Regions from separate parts of the Homo sapiens genome. Here region 1 is linked to region 2. The links are contacts of gene promoters, found by promoter capture Hi-C in human tissues and cell types (Jung and others, 2019). All regions are on one chromosome and are shown on one strand. Each heading gives the region's core, a stretch centred on a gene start or on the middle of the fragment in contact. The rest is flanking DNA. Distances are from core to core; before and after follow the strand shown.

Evidence for each region. Contacts are between HindIII fragments. The study calls those that stand out against the background at their distance.
Region 1: a fragment that was not itself captured here is called in contact with the fragment with the promoter of TBC1D21 in region 2 in 2 of the 25 tissues and cell types used here (mesenchymal stem cells and mesendoderm cells).

What each region holds. Positions count from the first base shown.
Region 1 is chr15:73,686,860-73,692,690 of GRCh38, forward strand. The region is part of intron 1 of CD276 (CD276 molecule); the gene reads left to right. Among named protein-coding and RNA genes, the nearest start is that of CD276, 5.4 kb to the left of the region's middle. The HindIII fragment of the contact is 5,586 bases long and covers 1-4,287 here.
Region 2 is chr15:73,869,979-73,875,344 of GRCh38, forward strand. It overlaps TBC1D21 (TBC1 domain family member 21), which reads left to right and starts at 3,586. Exons shown (of 11, transcript NM_153356.3): 1 at 3,586-3,791. The coding sequence starts at 3,732. LOC102723657 (a long non-coding RNA gene) reads right to left here and starts at 3,557. Exons shown (of 6, transcript XR_932455.3): 1 at 3,317-3,557; 2 at 1,965-2,125; 3 at 774-1,138; 4 at 499-634. The HindIII fragment of the contact is 7,159 bases long and covers 11-5,366 here.

The DNA of each region.
Region 1 (5,831 bases), core at 245-2,744, 190 kb before region 2:
GATCTGAGTCATAGGGTCAGGGAAAGAGGAAAAATGGCAAGGAGGATGACGTTACTGCCCATGAGCTTATCCTCTGAGTGGGTGGCGACTTCTCATTGTCCTTTTCCCACATCCCCAGGGCAGGAGTGTTAGGGAAGTCCACCAGCAAAAGGGGGAGGGCACACCCAGGGCCTAGGGGAGGGGGAGAGGGGTGAGGACTGGTCCACATGATTTTTGAGAAATTGCCTTTGGTCTTGTTGGCTCAGAATGGACCCCACACCTGGAAGGGGGCCACGTGTACAGTTATGCAACCCTTGCCTGCCACCCCCAGTTCTACCGCCCTTGCAGTGTGCCAGATAGGAGCATTGGGTTTTCAGGTTTGGGAGTGGGTAGGGTTGTGCTGGAGGCTAAATAGACATTATCTCATGTAATCCTCATAGTAATCCTATGAGGTAGGGTATCATTAACACCATTGTACAGTTGGGGAAACTGAGGCCCAGAAAGGGTAAGTCACATGCCCAAAGACACACAGCCGGCAAATGGTGGAGCTGGGCTGTTGTCTGCTTCCAGAACTGGCTTTTTCTGCTGCTCTGGAGGTAGGCACAGGTTTTACCCCTCTTTCTGGAGCCCGGTAAGATGTGCCAAGGGTCTCCTTAGTAAGTCAGGGAAGACTCATCTGGGGAACCAGAGAAGGGGCAGGCCTGACCTGGGTGACCCAGTGACTAGTGGCCTTCACAGCATAGTCAGGGCCTTTGCTGAGAGTTCTTCTCTTCCAGAGCCCTGGACTTTATCATGCTGGGGCTTCCAGGAGTTCCCCCTCCACCCTCCAGTTCTGACCAGTGCTCCCAGCCAGCTGCCCCCTTTCTCCCTTTCTTTCTCTTTGTGGTCCAGAGAATGAATGCCTGCTCCACACACCTTATGCCATTGGGAATCTGACCTTCTCTAGGCATAGGGAGCTTAATCTGCGGGAAGTGGAGTGAGAAGCATTTCTTGCTGGGAGCCTTGGAGCAGGGAGAGATACTGTCTCTGGGAGGCAGGGGTCCCAAGTTACCCTAGAGGCAATGCAGGCTCCTAGGAACTGGGGCTGCCTTGTGGGAGACATTGGAATGTGTCCCTGTGGGAATGCTCTGTGCTAGGGGCTATGGCAGCAGGACGGTAGGAGCTCATGGTACTTGGAACTGTGACCAAGCATCTGCGAAGAGGAAGGGGCCCAGGACCACTAGAATGAGTCAGAGCCAGAGATGGAGTCGAGTTGTGCATTTGCTACTTTGGAGCTGGGGCACTGATAGGGCTCTAGGTGAAAAGTAGGGATACAGAAGGAGTAATGGTCCCAGAGGCCCAGATGTGTGGCCTGACAGAGGAGGTCTTGGCCAGGGAGAGTGGGGTAGGGGCAAAGTGTTCGCTCAGTGCAGAGGCCCCATCTAGGAGGCCTTGTCCCCATGCTTGCGGCAATAATAACAGCAATAATAATAATTATTACTGCAGTTTTGGTACTGGGCACTTTCCTAAGTCCTCTCTCTCTATTGTCTTATTTTATTCTCACAGCAGCCCTGTGGGGTAGGGATTGTTACCCCCATTTTAGAGATTTGGAATTGGGTCTCAAATAGGTTAAGTCATTTAAACTTGGTCATGTGTTCAGCAAGGCATCGGTGTCAGGATTGAAACCCAAGGCTGCTGGCTTCTGAGCTCATGCTGTACCCTGGGCAGGCAAGGCAGCCTGGTGATTCCATTCAATAAGTGAGGAAGAGAGATAGGAGCATCAGCTGGCTCTTAGTCACTTCTGCTGGTGGCTGATAATTGAGTGTGGGCCCTTGGCCAGCCGGCCACCACTCTGGGTCCAGATTTCCATCTGTACAATGGGCCTGGAGCTAGGCGCTGGACCAGGTGTACCGTAAGAGGCCTTCTAGCTCTGAGGACTGGTGGAGATTGCTACACTCCGAGAGGGGTCTGGTGCTTAGATGGAGAGGGGTCGGCAGAGTTGTTCTGCTAAGCTGAGCCTCTTTCAGGGTAGAAACCAAAGGAATTTGGAGGCAAGGAGGCATTTAGGCAGATCACATCTGGAGAAAATGCACCCTTCCTTGAGTGCAGTCTGGAAAGGCTTCTGGAAAGGATAGGATTTCCAGATATGTTTAGGTGGGCACCTAGCAGGACTCAGCAGATATTGAGTGAATGCAGATGTGTGTGCCCTGGGCCTGCCAGTGTCTGACCCGAAATCTGCGCTCTGATGTGGTCTCATGTGCTCTCATCCCTTTCCTTCCTCTCCCTATTCTCCTTGTTGCCATCCCTTCTTTTGGCTGGACCTCCTCTGGGCCCAATGTAGCTTTCACTTTTTTCAGGGCTCTGTGCCTCCTGTGTGTGTGTGTGTGTGTGTGTGTGTGTGTGTGTGTGTGTACACATTTCCACATGCATGTATAGGTCAGTTTTGCAGCCCCTGCACATGCCTCTAGTTCCAGGGAGACCTTAGCCCTGCTTTGCTGGCCAGCCCTGATGACATACTACTGTCCTGACTCACACAGAAATCGCTTGGAGAGGAAGAACTGATTCCTGCTCTTGGGTGGGATCACGGGACTGGGGAGTGGTGCCCAGTGGACAGCCTTGAACATAAAAGGCCCAAACTGACTCAGATTATCAGGAAAAAGGAAGGCAAACAGGGAGGCTGTTCCCAGGGAACTCTAGGGACCCTCCCATCTCTTTTCTGAGGCTGCTGCCCATTTATAGAGCACCTAGTATTAACTAGGTCAGTTTTGATAATTTTGCTCATTGAGTCCTATAATCATCCTATGAGGGTAAGGTTTATAATCCCCATTTTACAAATGAGCAAACTGAGGCTCAGAGAGGATATTTTCATAAAGTTTCATTACTAGGAAGTGACAGAGTCTGGATTTGAACCTGTCTCTCCAACTCCAAAGTCATCTTCTTAAACACTAGTGCTAACTTCTTCCATGAAGCTTCTTGTGATTACACCAGCCCAACATGCGATATGGTCACAGCATGGGATGGTGGTCAGGACCCTTTGATGGTTGAGGAGATGAAGACCCAGAAAGGCAAGGGGTTTGGCCTAGGGAGCCTGGCAAGTGAGTGACAGAGCCTGGTCTAAAGTCCAGGATATCTCTGTTGTTGCTGTTTTCCTTTTTTCGTTAATTGCAAAAGAATTTACATGTTCATAGTTAAAAACAGAGAAGTGTATCAAGTAGAAAACAGTAGCAAACTCTCACCCTTATTCTGACACTCCAGAGTTGCATTCACTCTCAGGCATCCAGATCCTTTCCCCATATACAAACATCCATCCATCCATATATCTATCCATCTCTCTATCTAAACACACATGCATTCATTCGTTCACTCATTGAATCGTGCATTGAGAACCCATTATGTGCCAAGCCATTGCTAGAATTAAGGATGCAATAGTTAAATAAAGCAGATGTGGTTCCTTCTCAGGGAGGTTCTCATATATCATGAAGAAAACAGACTGGGTGCAATGAATGACAGGGTCCTTCTTAGAGTGGCAGATCTCTTACCTGGCTTTTCTGTCAAGGTGACCCTCAGAATATGGAGGTGTTACCTTTTATCTTAGTCCATGTTTTACTGCTATAACAGAATACCACAGCCTGGGTAATATATAAAGAAAAAAAGGTTATTTGGCTTGTAGTTCTGGAGACTGGGAAGTCCAAGGGCATGGTGCTGGCATCTGGCGAGGGCCTTCTTGCTGCATTATCCTATTGTGGAAGGGCATGTGAGCGTGCAGTACAGACAGTATGGGGGCAGCACTTACGCTTTTATCAGGAGCCCACTTTTCCTGTGATAACAGCATTAATCTCTTCACTTCTTACAGGCCCCACCTCTTAATACTGTTACAGTGGCAATTAAATTTCAACATGAGTCTTAAAGCACCCATGTCATCTAGGAAGAAGAAACTGTATTTGCAGCAACACTGTGAGGTAGGAAAGGGAGTCCTATGTTGTAGGAACTGGAAGCAGCCCACTGTGGTGAGGGGCAAGTAGGAAGAGGTGAGGCTGGGCAGGTGGGCAGGGCCAGGGCAGATGGGGCTCTGTAGGCTATGGAGGAGCTGCGATCTTATCACAAGGAAAGTGAACAGCCCTATGATTAACTATTGAAGGCAGTGATATAATTTATGCTTTTATATTAATAGCAATTATTCTGGCTGTTGTATAGAGTATAGATTGGAGAACAGAATTGGGTGGGGGAACTAGAGAAGGTGAACAGACTGGTGAAGAGGCTTTTATAGTTATCCAGGCAAGAGATGATGGTGACTTGGAAGACCAGGAAGAGAAGCAGGGGTAGAGAGAAATGGAGATAGTGAAGATATAGCAGACATATTTGAGGAGTCCTTCAGTTACAGATAATAGAAAACTAGCTCAAGCACATTTAAGAAAAAAAAAAAAGACTTGTTTAAGTACCTAGGCAGTCTATGTGTGCAGCTTGCTTCAGGAATAGGGGCTTAAATGATGGTTTTAGGGCTCTATATCCTTCTAGCTTCCATCTCTGCCTCTGTTCATTTGTTTGGATCAATTCTTTAGATTGTTGGTAGCAGACACATTTATTGCTAACAGTCCCAGACCGTATCCTTCTTAGTAATCTCAACAAGAAAGAGTCTTTTTTGATGGCTGCAGCAGCAAGGCTCTGGGGAAGTCTCTGATTGGGTGTGGCTTGGCTTACAGCTCATTCTCGAACTAATCACTGAGTGGGGGCAGGGCAGGTTTCTCCATGAGCCAGGTCTTGTAACATGCCCAGGCCCTAGGCTGGGAGGACAGCTCCACCAGTACAGCATGGACTGGGCTCCCTGCAGGAGTGCGGAGCCTTGCTACCAGAAGGGGCCAGCATAGACCAAGAGAAGGGCACTGTAGAATAAAGGACATGGAGCAAAATAACTGTGTTAAGACTAGCTACCAAAGACGGAGACGATCTGCTCGGCATTGAATTTGCCTCTTTGTCAAGGAAAGAAGGAGCAGAAGATGTTAAGAAGGAATTGAAGTTTAGGCCATACGGGGAGGTGCTCATCTGTTTTAACTGTATTTGTCTTCTGGCCCCTGGGATTGCCTGTCCTGGTGTGGGGTGAACTTGGAGACAGAATCTCTGAGAAGCTGTCAGGGATATTTCAGGCCAGTCTAGGGTAGAAGAGGGTTGGACACGTGGGTCACAGTATTCCACAGTTTCCTGCTGTGCACAGATTCAATCCGAGTCCCCATCTACGTCCCTCACTACCTCCCTTGCCTCCTCTCCTGAGTCTCAGCCTCTCCTGGAGTCCCATCTTCCCAGAATATGCTGTGGACATCTCCTCTTCTGTGACTTTTCATGCTGTCCCCTCCGCCAGATAGCCGAGATGTCTCCTCCTCTGTGCAGTCCTTACTGAGCCTCCCCAGCCCCCAGTGAATGGCTTGACCCTTTCATCCAGGTTTAAGCCTACTGCCTCGTCCATTCCCACAATACCTTGTATAAATGTGTACCAAAAAACTGGTCATATTCTATTTTAATGATATATTTGTTTCCTAAACCTTTTTTCTATTTTTAATATGAAAATGTGGGATTTTAAATATGCCATTTAGCAGCTCTGTAATCTTGAGCAAGTTATTAAATCTCTCCATCCCTGAATTTACTCCTCGGTGAAATAGGATAATAATAGTACCTACTTCACAGAATTGTTGGGAAGCTTAAATGAGTTAATATGTGTAAAAGCATTTAGAACAGAGCCTGGTGCATGGCTTTCAACAAAACTGGCCTATGTTATTATTATTTGATAAAAGCAAAATAATATATATAACATGGGTAACTTTTGAAGCATAATAATAAACATACCTCCCAACTTGAGAATGAGAACCCCTGTAGTTGAATAT
Region 2 (5,366 bases), core at 2,336-4,835:
ACTCCTTAGCCCTCCAACTAGGTTAGGGGATTTCTAGGGTGACTGGGCTGGTTATTGCTCTGGGGAATCCAACTACCTTGGTGCTCAGAAGGGAGCTGTCTCCACCACTCCCCGTCCCTGCTATCCTCACGCTAGTGACACATGACGTGCAGCCATCTCCAGCATTGTCAGAAATGCCATGCTCCATGGAGTTGAGGGCAGAAAGCCTGAAGCCAAAAATCTAAACTTACCCTGGTCCTCCACAAAGAGGGGTAAAGAGAAAAGTGCAGCTTTGGCATGGAAGATCCTTGGCATTTTGCAATGAAATAAAATCAGAATGCGTGTGATTTCTATCAAGATCTAGAGTGCCGCAGACTGAGACAGTCATGGGTAGGTATCCTTTGAAGGGGTTGATACTTGTTAACAGGGATACAGTTGCATGGCATTTCACAAAGTTGTGTCTTGTTGCATTGACATGAAGGGAACTGGAGTGAACCTGCTTTTTAATACTGGCCTTACCTGCTTTTATAGTAATCCTGGTCCCCTAGGTCCCCAGAGACATGCAGAGAAGTGGAAATTGGCTCAGAGGGTCTTTGAACTTGTACATGGATGTCACTACAAGCCTCATGGAAGCAGGCAGCATTTTGATGTGAGTCTAGTTCACAGAAGTAAATTTTCATAGTGATTTTTGTGGACAAGTCCTAGGCATTAGTAATAATACTGGCGATGCTGAAGATAATAATAACTACCACACATTGGGTGCCTCCTGCGCTCCAGGGCCATGCTTCAATTACCTTCAGTTCTGTAAAGCATTACCATCCTCATGGCACATGTGGAGATGCCGAGACTCGGGCAGGGTAGAGAAGATTCGCACTGTGTAGAGGACGGCAAACAGCACAACAATGCCCGCCACCAGGAGCAGCAGAACCAGGATGTCAGCCCACTCCATGGTTTATAGGTGTCGCCACGAAAGACACGACTCACACAGGCACTAGATGGAACAACACTTTACTCACACAGAGAAGAGACAGAGTAAGATCAGCTGCAATCATGGGTTCAGTCCCGCATGGCCAGGGGTCTCCTGCTACAGCAGACACAAGGTGACGGTCTGCACACACCCCTCTTGTGCAGCAGCGGGTGGACCCTGTTTCCTCCCCACCTGGAACAGATATAACAGTGGGGTTGGCCAGGTGCCTGCCACATGACGCACAAGCTTAAGCAGAACAAAGAGTACACGCTGAGTCTGAAACAGGAAAAAGATATTCCCACGTAAGGCGATAAGCCCAGCACAAGCTATGAGAGCTCCTTATCTGTTGGTAAGGAAGTGTTTTTGGCTCAAGGCCACTTGTATGGGGCTGAGCAGAGGTTAAAAAACCACATGCATGAGACTGCCTTTCTCAACCTAGGTCATATCATTGGTGTGCAGCAGAGCCAGGATTTGAACCGGGTCTTTTTGGCACCAAAGCCTATGAGCTTTCTCATTGATGAGAGGTCTTCCCCAGGCCACTCCAAGTCTCCTCTCCCTCCTCATGCCAGCCACATCAGCTAATGGACAGCCAGATTCAGCAGAGAAAAATGAACTGAGTGGGTTTCTCCCTCCTTGGACTTCTTTAATGCAAACACCTAAAATAATATTTTCCCTGAAGAATCCTCACGTATAGAAGTTTAAAGCAGAAAGCTGGATTCCCATCAGAGATGAGAAAATGCATAACAGAAAAGCAATATATGGGAAACCAAGGCACTTGGGCAATTATGTAAATAAATGGACATGGTAAGGATCATTCAGCCCTGGAAAAAAATGGACACATGTAATTCCCTTTCAGAATCTGAAAAAAGAAGAAAGAGGGATGGAATAAAAGCCCTTTTTGCTTCCGTTACAGAGTCCTGCAGTTCTGTTTGAATATTAAGCCTCCATGTGGTTGCTATGGGGCTTTTGTAATATGACTAAACTGTATTGGCTCATTTGGGGAAGGGTTATCACCTACAATTCACAGATAGGATGCCAGAGGTTAAAAGAAGTTCAGTAGTTGATCTATGTTCACCATGTTCGTTTTAGAAGCCAGGTTGAATTGAGCCCTCAGATGTTTCCAATTCCCGACCTGATCCTCATCTTCTCAAGGAACAATTGCAGTGAATCCTCAGTTGCCTACGTGGTTAATGTGGAAGAACAGAGACATAGATAATCCTAAATGATGTCTATGTCTCTTGCTCTAAACATTTGCTTTGGAAACTTCTTGCAGACCTTAGAATGAAGCCACCCTAATGTGCAAGGGGCCCCATCCTTACTCCACACCTTCCCTACTCAACGTTGCCCACCTCCCACTCCATGAAGACCTAGGGGCAGTAGATCAAAGGGAAGAGGCTCTTAACTCTCTCCTAGGTTGAGCTAGGGTAGTGGGTAGAGGAGAGAGGCCGATAATAAGGCATTTTGATTTAAAAGGCCTTCTGCAGTGCCGCAGGCAAGCAGAACAGAAACAGTAAATGAGACAATGAATTGTGTCCGTGGAAGACTCCATATGGACAGTGATTCATTATGTTAATAAGGAGGTGAAAGCCAGAGGTTGACTGTATTCTGATTTCATGTCTGGGGAATCTGTAGCTCAGAAGCGGGGAGCATCCAAATTTGAGGTCAGAGTCCAAATTCCAACACCCAGCTCCTGATTCCAATTTGGTTGGTCGAATTACTATCATCTCCTAATGACTAAGGATGCTTTAGAGCCAGATGGGACCTGAGTAGAAGTGCAAGCAATGCTTAAGGTGGAGAAGAGTGATGCTGGAGCCAAGCAGAGCCAACTCCTTGGGTCCATGCAACAAATATTGAGCACCTACCAAGTGCCAAGTGATGGCAGAACTGGCATTGGGAGAGGGAACCACAGAGGAATCTGATGTTGACCCTGGCCTAAAGGAACTCAGGGTAGGAGGTGATATGGGGCAGGCACAAATCTCTGTCATACATACAGAGAGGGAAGTGAGATGAGGTCTAAGACAGCTTCATTTATTCTCCCATTCAATTAAATCATTAACTCAGCTACTCAGGCACGATCGTAAGTGCTCCAAATAAAAAGCTAAACAAAACTGATCTCCACCCCAGAAGCTACCATTCCAATGCTGAAGCTAAGTCACCCCAGGAGGCATATCAAAACACATTCCCCAGCCCCCCAGGCCCCAGCACTGACATACTGATTCTGAATCTTTATAACTGGTACCCAAGACATCTGAAGCCTGGTTTCTAGTTATTCTCCAACTTTGGGCACTGGTCTGGTGGAATAGGGAGGGAGTCCAGCTAAGAGAGTCCAGAGGAAGAGTCAGAGATAGAGAGCAAGGCTTCATGGCCCACCTCTCCCTGGAAGCCCTCCTTGACCAGCACAGCCCACACTGATCCCCATGTCCTCTGAATCCAACCTCCACTGCGTGTTCTGCAGTTTTGCATTTTTCTGTTTGTTGTTGTTTTTTGTTTTTCTTTCTTTCTTTTCTTTTCTTTCCTTTTTTTTTTTTTTTCCAAAACTAGCAGGTTTAATCCCTCTTCTCCTGCTTGTGTCTCATCTCTAAAGGTGGGTGTTCCCGTGTTCCAGGTCATTGTGATGAGAGTTCCAGGGGACTTGTGACACACTGCTGGCCGGCTCTGTTCAAGTGTGGGAGGTCAGGAGCAGCCAGTTCCTCCTGGGAATGCAACCCATCTCCGAAAAGGATTAAGCATCACTAGGGCTCCAAGTGAGTTCTGATCAGAGGCTGTTCGGAAGACAGCAGGGGCCATGACCACCCTCTCTCCTGAAAACAGCCTCTCTGCCAGACAGTCAGCCTCCTTCATCCTGGTGCGTGTTCTTTGTCAGCTCTGAGTGCCTCCCTCCCCAGCCTCTGGTTGGCACTGGGACCATTTTCCCCTGCTGGGTAGGAAAAGCTAGAACCCTGAGCTAACATAGAAGGTGGAGCAAGGGCGGTTGTACCTTACTCTTACCATCAGCCCAAGGACAGGACTGAGACATCCAAGCCCCCTTTCACCTTCTTTCCAAGCCAGCAAAACCTTCTCCACATATGTGCTATTCTAACTTTATTGAGTTGTAGGTTTGCAGGTGCGAACCTGAAGATGCTGATAGATTTTCATCGGTGCTTTTTGCCAACAATTTTGGTATACTGCCACCAGGTGGCAGTAATGCTTTTGTTAGTAGGTAGTTCTAAACCCAGTTTACAAGATACAGCTATTTGTTAGAAGTCGGCTTCAGTCATAAAAATTTTCCACACGGTATTTTTTCAAAATCATAACTAATTACAATAACTTTAGCCAATCTTAAGTCTCATTAATCATAGTGATTAAGAGAGTGATACATAAAAATGCAAAATGGACACTCCTCTCCCTGAGTTTTAAATGTTACTGCTTTATGGCAAATTATCACCAGGCCTTGCTTTAAATTTTCTTTATATCTTTCTCATTTCTCTGAGCTTAGAGAAGGCTAATAAAATAAACTGTCACATAGCATTTATTATGTACGATGAATGTTCTAAATGCTTTATTTATAGTCATTCATTCTCATCACAACTCTATGAAGTGAATAATGCTGTTGTCTTCCTTTTATAAATGAGAACATGGAGCCACAGAGACTTTGTCACTTGCCTACAGTCACACAGCTTGTTAAGTGGCAGAAGTTGTATTTCGACCCAGACAGGTGGGGTGCAAAACTCAGTATTCTCAAAGTGTGGCATCCAAACCTGCAGCATTAGCACCAACTGGGAACTTGTAAGAATGCAGACTCTTGGGCCCCAGATCTTCTGAACCAATAAACTGGAGACGAAGCCCAGAGATCTGTGTTTTTTGTAACTCATCCCTCCAGGGCACTGTGATGCACAATTAGCTTTGTGAACCACTGTTTTAAACCATTTTCTTCATCACGGTGCTGTACTGATGATACACCCTCCACACCTGGGTTGGTAATAATTGCTGAAGTGGGAACCCCTTGTTACGGTTGGGAGTCTATCTTGTCCTCAGGTGAACTGGAGTAGAAAAGAGAACCTGTCCAGGTGCAGTGGCTCACGCCTGTAATCCCAGCACTTTGGGAGGCCGAAGCGGGCAGATCACCTGAGGTCGCGAGTTCAAGACCAGCCTGGCCAATATGGCAAAACCCTGTCTCTACTAAAAAATACAAAAAATTAGCCAGGCGTGGTAGTGAGTCCCTGTAATCCCAGCTACTTAAGAGACTGAGGCAGGAGAATCACTTGAACCAGGGAGGTGGAGGTTGCAGTGAGCTGAGATTGCGCCACTGCACTCCAGCCTGGGCGACAGAGTGAGACTCCATCAAAAAAAAAAAAAAAGAAGAAGAAGAAGAAGAAAGAAGGAAGGAAGGAGGGAAGGAGGGAAGAAGGGAAGGAAGGAAGGGAGGGAGGGAGGGAGGGAG